4 separate regions of the Homo sapiens genome follow, and regions 2, 3 and 4 are each linked to region 1. The links are contacts of gene promoters, found by promoter capture Hi-C in human tissues and cell types (Jung and others, 2019). All regions are on one chromosome and are shown on one strand. Each heading gives the region's core, a stretch centred on a gene start or on the middle of the fragment in contact. The rest is flanking DNA. Distances are from core to core; before and after follow the strand shown. Region 1 holds the start of OR9Q1 (olfactory receptor family 9 subfamily Q member 1). Region 2 holds the start of OR5B3 (olfactory receptor family 5 subfamily B member 3). Region 3 has its middle 24 kb from the start of OR5B17. Region 4 has its middle 20 kb from the start of OR5B3.

The links. Contacts are between HindIII fragments. The study calls those that stand out against the background at their distance.
Region 2: the fragment with the promoter of OR5B3 here is called in contact with the fragment with the promoter of OR9Q1 in region 1 in 1 of the 25 tissues and cell types used here (IMR-90 fibroblasts).
Region 3: a fragment that was not itself captured here is called in contact with the fragment with the promoter of OR9Q1 in region 1 in 1 of the 25 tissues and cell types used here (thymus).
Region 4: a fragment that was not itself captured here is called in contact with the fragment with the promoter of OR9Q1 in region 1 in 1 of the 25 tissues and cell types used here (aorta).

The regions. Positions count from the first base shown.
Region 1 is chr11:58,022,295-58,025,551 of GRCh38, reverse strand. OR9Q1 (olfactory receptor family 9 subfamily Q member 1) reads right to left here and starts at 1,671. Exons shown (of 3, transcript NM_001005212.4): 1 at 1,448-1,671. LOC107984331 (a long non-coding RNA gene) reads left to right here and starts at 1,133. Exons shown (of 3, transcript XR_001748218.1): 1 at 1,133-1,465; 2 at 2,528-2,712. The HindIII fragment of the contact is 7,062 bases long and covers 1-3,257 here.
Region 2 is chr11:58,405,339-58,408,733 of GRCh38, reverse strand. It overlaps OR5B3 (olfactory receptor family 5 subfamily B member 3), which reads left to right and starts at 1,860. Exons shown (of 2, transcript NM_001005469.2): 1 at 1,860-1,933. The HindIII fragment of the contact is 8,045 bases long and covers 1,685-3,395 here.
Region 3 is chr11:58,333,893-58,337,059 of GRCh38, reverse strand. No RefSeq gene overlaps it. Among named protein-coding and RNA genes, the nearest start is that of OR5B17, 24 kb to the left of the region's middle. The HindIII fragment of the contact is 8,330 bases long and covers 1-3,167 here.
Region 4 is chr11:58,384,775-58,388,144 of GRCh38, reverse strand. It overlaps the pseudogene OR5B15P. Among named protein-coding and RNA genes, the nearest start is that of OR5B3, 20 kb to the left of the region's middle. The HindIII fragment of the contact is 5,532 bases long and covers 1-3,370 here.

The DNA of each region.
Region 1 (3,257 bases), core at 422-2,921:
TCGGGTCATGTGTTGGTAGGAAGATGAGCTTCTCTCCAAAAAGGGAGAAAGGAGGCCGGGCGCAGTGGCTCACGCCTGCAATCCCAACACCTTGGGAGGCTGAGCGGGCGGATCACAAGGTCAAGAAATCAAGACCATCCTGGCCAACACGGTGAAACCCCGTCTCTACCAAAAATACAAAAAGTAGCTGGTCATGGTGGCGTGCGCCTGTAGGACACACCCTATAGTAGCACGGCGGGCACCCCAGCTACTCAGGAGGCTGAGGCAGGAGAATCTCTTGAACCCGGGAGGCGGAGGTTGCAGTGAGCTGAGATCGCGCCACTGCACTCCAGCCTGGCGACAGGGCAAGACTCCGTCTCAAAAAGAAAGGGTCATTTACGGAGCCCCTCCCATGGGCTAGATTCTGATGGGCTGATACCATCTGGCTTAATCCCCACAATATTGTACTATGATCCTATGAACTATTCTTGATATAGAGGTGTTATTTGTCTTGGTTTTCACGCAATTGAAATCACTGAAGGCTCAGAGAGACAGTAAGTAAACTTGGGCAAGATCAAAGAACTACATGGCACAGAGAAGAGCCAAACCCCAGAGCTTCTGACAAAAAAAGCCTCCACACCGTGCCATTTTCCTCTGCCATCTCATTTCACCCAATGACAACGTGCCTGCAACCCTGGCTCCCTGCCCTGACTCTGAGGTTAATTTCCCTGCAGCTCGGAGCCCCGCCAAGGCTGGAGGAATATCCCACAGGCTCCAGTGAGCTGCAAAGCACAGTCACACTCCCAGGGCTATTAACAGCATCCGCTTCCTCTCCAAGGTTCAGGGAACTTTATCCACCAAGTGCCATGCAGGAAAAAAGAGGTCAGCCAGAGAGGAGAGGGTCACACGGGGCAATCACTAAATAAGGAGAAAGGCCGCACAGGAACTTGGCCCAATTTGGTGTCCTCAAAAGACGGTGCTCCCTGGCCAAGATTTTCCCTAACAAATATGGAAAAACAGTTTGAGGCCCATGCACGAAAATTGAAACTTGGTTCCTGTAGCTATTTGCTTGTGTAGCTACGTGACAAGCCTGGTGAGAAACGCTGGATTTCTCCCTCTTTCAGTTCTCTCCACCTGGCATCTGGGGGCCTAGTCCCAAAAAGTGAAAGGAACTGGAAAATAAACTTACTAAGATCCAGGAAATGATTTCAAAAAAAAACAGCCAACAAACCGAGGTGAGCAGGCGCAGTGGGTGGGTGTTATGAGACAGACAGCGGGGCTAGGAGATGCCCAGGATGAAGCCCGGAGACCTGCTCTCTGATTCCTCTTGGGTCTAGCTCATCACAGCCTGCTTCCCCACTCCCACTGCAACGTGACAGCAACAGCACATCTCACTTTCCAACATGCAGACAGCCCCCTGTGTTAACAGCACCGTCTCTGAAATCAGTGGAGCTGCATTTGACCCTACCTCCGTCAGGCCGTAGCTGTGAGTTTGGGAAAGGCGTTTGATCTTTCTGAGCCTCAGTGTCTTCATCTTCAAACGGGAAGGATAACATGTACATTGCTGGGCTGGACTAAAGATGGAAGGAGACATCATTAAGGGAAAGTTAGGGCCTTTGCTCCTTTCGCTCCCTCTACCATCTCTGTGTGGCATCCTCCTGCACTTCTTCAATTCCCTGCACAAGGGCCACCTTAACAGAGAGGCCCTTTCTGACCACCTATCTGAAAACGCAGTTCCTTTCACTCTCTGACCCTCTTCTCAGTTTGATTTTTTGGGTCACAGCTTCATTGCCATCTGGTAGATATTTATTTGTTTGTCTATAACATCACGCACACACACACACACACACACACAAAAGGAAGCTCCTTGAAGATAGTGCCTTTGTTTGTTTGTTCATTACTGTGTTGCTAATGCCAAAGTCACTGACATGTAGTCTACATGCAATAAATATATACTGATGTAATAAAAGGGTGGCTGCATGCTCCTGATTGTACGTTGGCAGCGTACTTAGTTTCCTTTCCATTTCTAGCTACCTGTTTTTAAGGAAATTTAAGGAAAAGGAAGTTCAACAATACTTACAGAAAAGTCAATCAATTTGGGTGTTGTCCATGCAATTACTGTCAACGGACTACAAGACTGACAATGCCTGCAGGAATGATGTCTTGTATATCTGGAGCAGCCTGCTCTCATGGCCTTGGGTGGGAGGCAAATTGAATTGATTTCTACATATAATTTCTTTTTCTTAGCTACAGAATTTAATTCTAAATTTCCCGGAAAGCTGTACTCTATCAGCTGTTTTCAAACTCTGTTCCACCAAGCCCTAGGTTTGCTTAGTTGCCAGGTAGCTGGGAAGAGGAAAGGACCTAGTATGTGGGGCTCTCAAAATCCCTGCTTCAACCAGCTAGTAAGTGACAGAGTCCAGATGAGAATCCAGCCCAGTCTGACTCCAGAGCCCACCATCTTTCCATCATACCACCTCCCCAGGGAGGGTGATATTCCTAAAATAAAATCTGATCAATTAACTGGGCGCTTCTCTCATTATTCCAGGACTTCAATACTGAGCAGATACAATCTGTTCCTCAAAGCTACTGACATATAGTCTGCCTATGATGGGAACAAATGGGAAACTGAGGTATAAGAAAATAAGTGGGAGGCTTCTCCAGCCATATATGTGACAGAGACCCCAGACCCAAACCAAGCCAGAGAGTCCACTATAGCAGACAGGAACCAAGGTGAGAATCAAGCTTTCTGAGCTTCTAGCTCTTAATCTCTAGGCAGCAATAATATCTATTCTTGTTGTCTCTCAGAACATTCTGTGAATTGATGAGATAGTGGATGTGCGGGTTCTTTGAAACTTTAAAGGTACACTCTGGTAAAACCTGCTTACTCTTTTGCTTCTATTGCTTATGGACTATGCGATGACCACAGAATTTCAATAAAGGGACAGCATGGGAATGGCCATCTGGTGGGACTCTGGGAATGGTCATGAAGCTGCCCTGGAATAACAAAAGCAAATTGATTTTGTTTAGATTGTAGGTTTGAGGTGGCTTGAGGAGGCAGATGGAGATGAAGGAGAACTAAAACCCCACAAAGTCCCTCGGCACCCCTACTCTATAAGAGCTTAAGCAAATCAGTTGAATTCTGTGTGCCTCCATTTTCTCACTTGAAAACTGAATTGATATTTAAAACCACAATGACTCTGTAAAAGAGCTTTTGGGCCGGGTGTGGTGGCTCATACCTGTAACCCCAGCACTTTGGGAGGCCGAGGTGGGTGGAT
Region 2 (3,395 bases), core at 611-3,110, 380 kb before region 1:
TGTGATAAGTCTGCTTGGGAGTGTGGTGTGGGCTCAGAAGCAACAGTGCAAAGCGATGAATCTGTGTGCAAAAGGATGAATCTGTCTCCTTTTTTGGAAAAGAAAAGCATTCCCAGGCCAGAATTGTGGTGATAAGGTAGATAAGTGTTAAGAAAATCGGTAAGGAGATATCTTAGAGAAAAATCAAAAAAAGTAAAATAAAAATTAAATTAAAAAATTTTTAAATATAAAATGCTGATACAGAGGTGAGACAATTTGAACGAACTGCTAGTGGGAATTCAAAATAGTAGAATATCTTCAGAAAAGATGTTGACAGTTTCTTATTCAGATAAACATGTGCTTACCATAGAACAATTCAATCTGACTCATAAATATTTATTCAAATGAAATGAAAATCTATGTTCACCTCAGAAACTTTTTTTTTGAGACAGAGTCTCACTCTGTAGCCAAGGCTGGAGTACAGAGGCGCAATCTTGGCTCATTGCAGCCTCCGCCTCTGCCTCCGCCTCTGCCTCCCGGGTTCAAGCAATTCTCCTGCCCCAGCCTCCTGAGTAGCTGGGATTACAGGTGCCCGCCACCATCCCTGGCTAATTTTTGTATTTTCAGTAGAGAATGAGCTTCACCATGTTGACCAGGCTGGTCTTCAACTACTTACCTCAAGTGATCCACCCCGCTCGGCATCCCAAAGTGCTAGGATTACAGGCATGAGCCACAGTGCCTCACCCAGAAATCTTTAATGAAATGTTTAGATCAGCTTTATTTCTACTCACCAAACACTAAAACCAATACAAATGTTCCTCAGTTGCACAATGAGAAAAACAATCTGTAATGTCCACATAATGCAATATTCTTCTACAATAAAAAAGATTTAACTCTGACATAGGCAACAATATATATGGGTCTCAATTGCTAAGTGAAAGTGAAAGATGCCAGACTCAAAGACTACATATTCTAGGATTATATTTAAAGACATTCTAGCAAAAGCAAAATTATTTGGACAAAAACAATTTACTTGTTGCCAGGGTAGCGGGTGGGAAAAGAGGTTACCAAAAAGTCGGCTTAGAAAATTTTTTTTATGTAATTGTTGCAGTCATTATGTGACCATGTATTTGACAAAATTCTTAGAACTGTACAGTAAAGTGTGTATTAATACTGGGTATTACTGTATGTAAATTATGCATTAATTAGAGAATGAAAAAAATAAATTTAATATGCACACAAATTATGTGCACATATTAAAAATAATAAGCTTGATCCCCACCGGCAGCTTTAATTGCTTCTTCACCAGGAAAGTAGAATGAGGAGCTGTAGATCCTCTCACAGGGGACATCTCCAGAGATCTCCATGCCCTTATAATTCTCCTCATGTCTCCATATATTAGCATCTAAAATCCCAACATGACTCCCAACATGATGTAGTTTTAGAGAGACCACACTGTGTACAAAGCTCTGCAGATCATAATTTATTCATCTAAAGGATAATTGTTTTTAGTTCATGCATGCCTTCTGACCTGAGGCTTTGCTATGAAGCTTCAACCCTGCTCAGGGAAAACATCCCGAGTTAAAAATTACATTGACTGATTTTTGCATGATGGCCCCTTAGCAAGATGTTTTACAGGCCTCCCTTACTTGTTCTTTACAGATGCAATTCTGTGAATTATGTGAGAGAGGTAATCTTAACATGTTTATTTTCTCAAGAAAGGGGAAGATAAGTAATTCCTTTAAGTTCACAGAAAGAATTAATAGTAGATTCAGGACTTTTTCCGTGTTAATGCTCTTCCCTTTATTTCTCCATGCCTAAGAGACCTTGAAACCTGTTGACCACTATCTGAAAGCAAGCTTCTCCAAACATATTAATGCAATGTTCCATGGCTGATTTTCTGATTGCAGAACAACTATTCTGTATTGACTGTTTCTGCTCATCCAGCTGTAAGGTAAGCTTCTATATCTAAGAAACATTTTAGAGACAAGTGTAACTCATGCAAAAGCAGTGGGGCAGCTATACCTACTATAAGCTATTTGAGAGCAGAAATAGATGTTTTCAACATTTTTTCTAAAATACTGAGGTGGGCATAGGGCATAAATGTTCCATTATAGGAAATTTAGTGGTTCTTATGAAATGTGCTTCTTCCTCCAAAGATATGAACAAAAAATAAGATAGATGATGCTCTGACTGACTAGGTGGTAATTTTATCTGTTTGTTATATATTGGTTTCTCATGAGTGGTAAAAAAAAAAACCAAAAACAAACAAAAACAAGTGAAATGTTCATTCTTTAAACTACAAAAAGGTGTTAAATGAATTAACGAGCTATGACCTGTGTTTTAACTTTTTTTATAATCTCATTACTATTAGCGCATCTACCTATGTTGACAGTGATGTGGCTGAAAGTTTTGACTTTTGATTAGATTGAAGATGGATTTAACTCTTGAACCTTGACTCTCAAACTAGTCATATAATTTTGGAGCATCATATCACTTCTCAAATTGTCAATGTTCTTAACGATAAAGTAATAATACTATCTAACTCTCTCTCTCTTTCTCTCTCACACACACACATGCGCACACACGCATATACACACACATTATTTATATATAAAGTTTTTATTATTGGTTGTAGAACATAGTGTATGCTAAATGCGGTCAGGTATGTTAAAGTTAGCAACATAACACCTTCATAGGTCAGGCTTGGGAAGTGAAGTTGCCAAGTGTTTAAAAGAAAGACAGTAGGAAACAGTAGTTAGTATTGGTTGGACACCCTTCTCCAGGCCCCAATCCAAATACACAGACTTAAAGTATTATTCCTGATTTCATTCTTTTTTTCATGGCTGTGTAGTATTCCATGGTGTATATGTACCACATCTTCTTTATCCAGTCTACCACTGACGGGCACCAGGGCTGATTCTATGCTTTCATTGTTGTGAATAGCGTGCTGATGATCATACAGGTACATGTGTCTTTTTAAAAAAAAAGTCCAACTTTTAAGTTCAGGGCTACGTGTGCAGGATGTGCAGGTTTATTACATAGCTAAGATGTGCCATGGTGATTAGCTGTACAGATCATCCCATCACCTAGGTATTAAGCCCAGCATCCATTAGCTTTTCTTCCTGATGCTCTCCCTCCTCCTACCCACCATCCTCTGACAGGCCCCAGTGTGTGTTGTTCTCTACCATGTGTCCATGTGGTTTCATCGTTCAGCTCCCACTTAAAAGTGAGAGCATGCAGTATTTGATTTTCTGTTTCTGCATTAGTTTGCTGAGGATAATGGCTTCCAGATCCATCTATGTCCCTGCAAAGGAGATGATCTCGTTCTTTTTTATGGCTGCATAGTATTCCATGGTGTATATGTACCACATTTTCTTTATCCAGTCTATCATTGATGGGCATTTAGGTTGACC
Region 3 (3,167 bases), core at 406-2,905, 310 kb before region 1:
TATTTTTAACTGGTGTTCTGTACTTTTGGCATTTTTAAGACAAATATCTTAAATATGTTCATAGAGCTAAAGGAAGTCTTGAACAAAGAACTAAATGAAACCAAGAAAACAATGTATCAAAAAGTTTCTAAAAATTAATAAAGGGAGAGTAATTATAAAATATTACCATAATAGAAATTGTGGAACAGTAACCAATAAGAGATTAAGTATACCATGAAAAGTAATGGCTCAGATTGCCTGATTTAAAAATATTAATATCTTTTATGCTATCAAACTACTGTCATTTTCATTGCCACATGAGAGTAGGAGCACAGCTTATGAGGAGGGGTAGAAGGTATCTCATTTTGTGAATTAAGAAGATATGGCCATGGCAAATCTATACCCAGCTCTTTATGAACAGACCTAGGATTATAATTGATCTTGTGTTTTGCAGTACAATTTTATCCACATGCCTGCATATCTGAATTTCTAGATGAAAAACAGTCATTTCTTGCTGCTTTATACCTAGAAGTATATATAAGAGAGTGGGCAGTGCATTGGCTTCTTGGTATTTTAGTGGAATACAGAAATTAGTTATTTTTCAAAAATAACTTTAATTAGATGAACATTTTATATGTTTTATCACAGTGTGGCAACTCACAGAAGAAGAAAATTCATGTAGGGTGCTCTGGCACATTCTGAACATTTTCATGGTGATTTCATAACATATTATAGAGATATTAATTATATCACTTATTACTGTTTGGGTGCTTATTTACAGAGCTTATTGGCTCTGCCCCCATAATAAGTAATCACGTTATTCACTTTTTAATAACAGTGATTAACACAGAAACTGTTATAAAGTCAGAATTCAGTTCTCCTTAAATGTATTAGGTCAAAGAGATTCAAGCTATGCCTTCTGTGTTAGAGCTGGGAAAACTTTATATTTTAATTCTGAGCACATGGTAGAACATATTTATTATAAAGTGATCACAAGTTCTAAAGCTTTGCATATGTGCAAATCTATCTAGGAGGAGAATGAGTACTTAGTCTGAAGCAAACATTACACTAAGTATTCTATATAATCTATTTTATTTTATTCATCTATTATAAAGGGAGAAAAATATTATTTTTTCAATTGTACAGATGAGGAAAGTAATACATAGAAAAGTTAATTAATGTGACACAGAATTTTGGAAAGATGGTTAAGATTGTGCACTTTAGATGGAGTCTAATCTCATTTAAGAGTTGGAAACAAATGAAACAAAAATAGCAATGTGAAATATGAAAAGAAAACCAATAAGATAACATAAAAAATATACATTCACAACAGTTTTATACAATTTTTGATTGAGGGGATAAATATTAAACTAGACAAAGTTAAATTGAGAAATATAGTTCAAAATACAGTTCAGAGAGCAAAGAGATAGAAAATACAAAAAAGAATTTAAGTCAGGATGTAGAGATGCCAGCAAGATGGCAGAGTAGAAATGCCCAACTTTGTCTTCCACAGAAACACCAATTTGCCATGATGTGTGGATCAAAATAACTTTACGGGAAGTGCAGAATCTAGTTAAATAGTTGCAGTACCCCCAGACAAGTACAAAACTAAGAACAGTCACATTGAAACATGTAAAAAGAGCAATTTCACTTTACCATATCAGCTCTTTTTTCAAGTTGTCACAGCTCGGCACCAACTGAGAGATTGCCTCAGTCTAAAATTTTCTCTCGGAGGGAGAAGAAAGTGGGGCATATATTCAATCTTCTAGTCTTTCAGCATGCTGCCAAAGCCAGTTTGTAAAGACTGGGAAAGGGGACTTTTTATTCAAACACAGACACCAAGGCAAAGCTACAAGAAACACAAAGAATCAGGAAACCATGACACAATCAAAGGAATGAAATACATGTCCAGTAATGAAATGTAATATAAGGTTATTCTTTGTTGCCTCAGTGGCTCTAAAGTAGTTGCATTCTCTCTGCTTGTTTTAAACTTTTACCTAGTCATTGTCCACTACCAAGCACTCATCTCTCAACATATGTGGCCAGGCAATAAGTCATATGATGACCTTTCCATTTGATGTCTTCCTTTCCCTGTTTTGACCTAGTTACATTTAAATTAACCAACAAAAATACTGCCTTCATGCTATGGCTGCACCACCTATGACTACCCCCAATAAAAATGCTCACCCATGAGTCATCTCCTCTGTCTGTTTTCCTGACAACCAAGCTCAACCCACAGCTTTTGGTGAATTATGTGACCCTCTGGTAATACTGTGCCTCTTCTTTAAGACCTGTGAGTATAATAAAATTTTAAGTTTTTATGTTTCTCTCAGTGCTTTTGATCTGTGTAGAAGTGATCCTTGAAGGACCCCAACAAGGGTGCTTAGCCCTGTTTACACAATACTGACCCTAATGTAATGGAGATCTATAACTTTCTTGTCAAAAAAGATAATGATCTTAGAGGAGCTAAGTGAATTAGAACACAGATGATAAAAGAAAATCAGGGAAATGATACAGGAACAAAATAAGAATATAACAAAAAGTAATGATAAAAAGGAAACACATAGAAATTCTAAACCTGAAGAAAAAAATAACTGAACTGAAAAATTTATTAGAGGGATTAAACAGAAGACTTCATCAAGCAGAGGAAAGAATCATTAAACTTATAGACGACTCACTTGAAATTATACAGTCAGAGAAAAAAACAAGGAATAAAAAAGTGAAGGAAGCCTAAGGGAATTAGGATGCAAAATCAATTGAAACGATATACATGTTATGGGAGTTTCAAGGACTCAACAGATAGAGAAAAGAGCAAAAGATTTATTTAAATATATCATGGCCCCAAATTCCCAAATCTGGGGGAAAAAATGAATATCCACATTTATGAAGCCCAAAGGACCTCAAACAGGATTACCCAAAGACACATTATAATCAAATTGTCAAAAGCCAAGGACAAAGAGAGAATTTTGAAAGCAGCAAGACAAAAGTAATTAGTGAAGTACAAGTGAGCCTCCATTAGACTACCAATGGATTTTTCAGAAGAAATGTTGCAGGTCAGAGGAAGGGGATAAAATCTCCAAAGTGCTAAAAGAAATAGAAACTACCAATTAAGAATACGATACCTAGAAAAACTGTCTTTCAGAAATGAAGAACAGCTAAAGACCTTTCCAGAATGCCAAAGGGGAGAG
Region 4 (3,370 bases), core at 85-2,584, 360 kb before region 1:
AGTTACTTCTTGACTTCAGTGGCCTATGATTGCTACAGAGTAATGTGTAAACCCCTACATTACACCACCACCATGACAACAAATGTGTGTGCTTCTCTGGCCATACATGCATGTCTTAGGTTTACTGACTGCTGCTGTTGACATTGGAGACATTTTATGTCCAATGAGATCCATCACTTTTTCTGTGATATTCTGGCAGTCATGACTCTGACTTGCTCTAATAAACATATTAATGAGTTGATCCTTGTTCCTACTTCAAGCTATATTTTTTACCCTCCTAGTTATCTTGATTTCCTGCTTGTTTGTATTTGTATTTGTCACCATTTTAAAGATGCTCTCTTTAAGTATACAAGAAGGTTTTATCTACCTATGGTTCTCACCTCACTGCAGTTCCTTTATTTTATGAGACTGTCCTCATCACATATGTGCAGCCAAGTTCTATCATTTCATGAACACAGAAAAAATTGTATCTGTGTTTCATATTATGGTTATCCCCATGCTAATCCCTGTGGTTTATAGCCTGAGAAACAACGAGGTCAAGAGTGCATTCAAGACTGTTTGTTGAGGAAACAAAATATTTTCTGGGTTTAGTCTTTTAATAATGTAAAATCCATAAAAAGTCATTCTATCCCTCTTAGATCCACCTTATGCAATAGCTTTCTGTATTATATTATATTATTATATTATTAATTTCTTTAGTTGAGAAATAGCTCTAAGCATGCGAAATAGAGAGAAATATGATACTGGTTTTAATAGAGTATAGTTTTTTATTGGCACATTTTATCTAAATATAAATAATTACAGTATCTTAATATTAATGTTTCAGTCATTATGTAGTGATTTGGTGAGAGAAAGCATATTCACATGACAACCTTGAAAAGATAGTCAAATTAGAATAAAAGCAGAGAAAATATTGTCATCTTTTACCTTACCCATATGACTACCAACTTCACATTTTGTTTTTTAAAAAAGCATTGATATTAATAATAATGCTATTCTCTTTTTTGGCAGTAAATGTTTTGAAATTGTTGTGCCACCATCGTTGCTTTGGTTGGGCCCACATCTCTAGGCATGCTCTTGTCTTAGGAGCTCTTTATTTGCTGTTTCCTCTGCTCAGAAAATTTCCATACTCATTTAATATTGTTGCTTAAATGTTAACCCACCCAGGCAGATCATGCCTTTCCTGAACTACTTCATAATATAGCCTCTCCCCTCCCATGGACCTTCTTTCCTCAGCCTACTTCATTCTTCAAAATCATTATCAACATTAAACTCCGGTATTATTTGTTCACCTGTTTATCATATCTTCGACTTGAATGGAAATTCCCTATGAGTGGTCACCTAATCTAGTTATTTTACTGTAACAAAGCTATGAGGCTTGAATTTAAAATTCTTGTATGGCACACATATACCTCTGTAACAAACCTGTGTGTTCTGCACATGTATCCCAAAACTTAAAGTAAAATTTTAAAAAAAAAATTTTAAACAAATTTACAAGAAAAAAACAAACAACCCCATCAAAAAGTGGGTGAAGGATATGAACAGACACTTCTCAAAAGAAGACATTTATGCAGCCAAAAAACACATGAAAAAATGCTCACCATCACTGGCCATCAGAGAAATGCAAATCAAAACCACAATGAGATACCATCTCACACCAGTTAGAATGGCAATCATTAAAAAGTCAGGAAACAACAGGTGCTGGAGAGGATGTGGAGAAGTAGGAACACTTTTACACTGTTGGTGGGACTGTAAACTTGCTCAACCATTGTGGAAGTCAGTGTGGCGATTCCTCAGGGATCTAGAACTTGAAATACCATTTGACCCAGCCATCCCATTACTGGGTATATACCCAAAGGACTATAAATCATGCTGCTATAAAGACACATGTACACGTATGTTTATTGCGGCACTATTCACAATAGCAAAGACTTGGAACCAACCCACATGTCCAACAATGATAGACTGGATTAAGAAAATGTGGCACATATACACCATGGAATACTATGCAGCCATAAAAAATGATGAGATCATGTCCTTTGTAGGGACATGGATGAAATTGGAAATCATCATTCTCAGTAAACTATCGCAAGGACAAAAAACCAAACACTACATGCTCTCACTCATAGGTGGGAATTGAACAATGAGAACACATGGACACAGGAAGGGGAACATCACACTCTGGGGCCTGTTGTGGGGTTGGGGGAAGGGGGAGGGAGAGCATTAGGAGATATACGTAATGCTAAATGACGAGTTAATGGGTGCAGCACACCAACATGGCACATGTATACATATGTAACAAACCTGCACATTGTGCACACGTACCCTAAAACTTAAAGTATAATAATAATAAAATAAAATAAAAAATTAAAATTAATAAAAAATTAAAAAAAAGAAATTCTCCAAACCATTTGCTTTTCACCTTGTAGCCAACTAAGGACTGACAAATGTACCTGAAGACCAATTATTGTTTCTACCCCTTCCAAAAGTCTTATCTTAATAAGATGGTTGCCAATGATTCACTGGTTCAGTATTTATTCCATTTTACTCAATGAGCTTACTGTCCCTTCTAACACACTTGCAATCCTGCTGAAGTAAAAATAATAGAAGATGGTTTCCTTGCTGCAAGTTTATTAATAAATTGCCTTTATTTTGTGCTAGACAGGATTTTGTGTTCAACACACTTCAGAAATGGTAATGAAGAATAATGGATAAGAAGAGAAATGCTGAAGAGATTACACCAGCAGCCAAGGAAAACAATGGAAAATGGAGTTTTCCCCAGAGAAAAAAATCAGGGTCTCATAAAAAAATATATATCATTACTTGGGTGAGGGACTTTCATAATGCCAATTCTGTAAGATTTTAAAACCAACCAGTGTGCCTCCCATTACTGTCTTGTATACATGGGGATGACTTTTTTCTGTGTGTGTGTGTGTGTGTGTGTGTGTGTGTGTGTCTGTGTATGTGTTTGCTAATTATCTTTACTCTGGTATGACTTTATGTATTGGATGTGAATGTAGAAGGAGCTAAATTTTCTTTTTGGTTCATAAATTGCTGAACCACAAGGAGCCACATCCTGATTATGTGGAGAAGACCATTTAACCTGAGGTTGAGCTTGTATGGTGACTAGTTGGGATTTAGGTGGTCTCTTTGGGGGAGGTAGATAATATGTTCTTTCTGTGGGAAGAAGTATAAAGTGGATATTGGATGATCATAAGTATTACAATGGAAAAGACTGGTAGTTGTTTTCCAAACTATTTTATTTTTACTGTACTCATACCTAGGCTGTTTCTCAGCCTTTATGCAGTACTTTGTGGCTATGTGATTGTATTTTTGACAATCCAATTTGTGAAGTCATATATGCCATTTC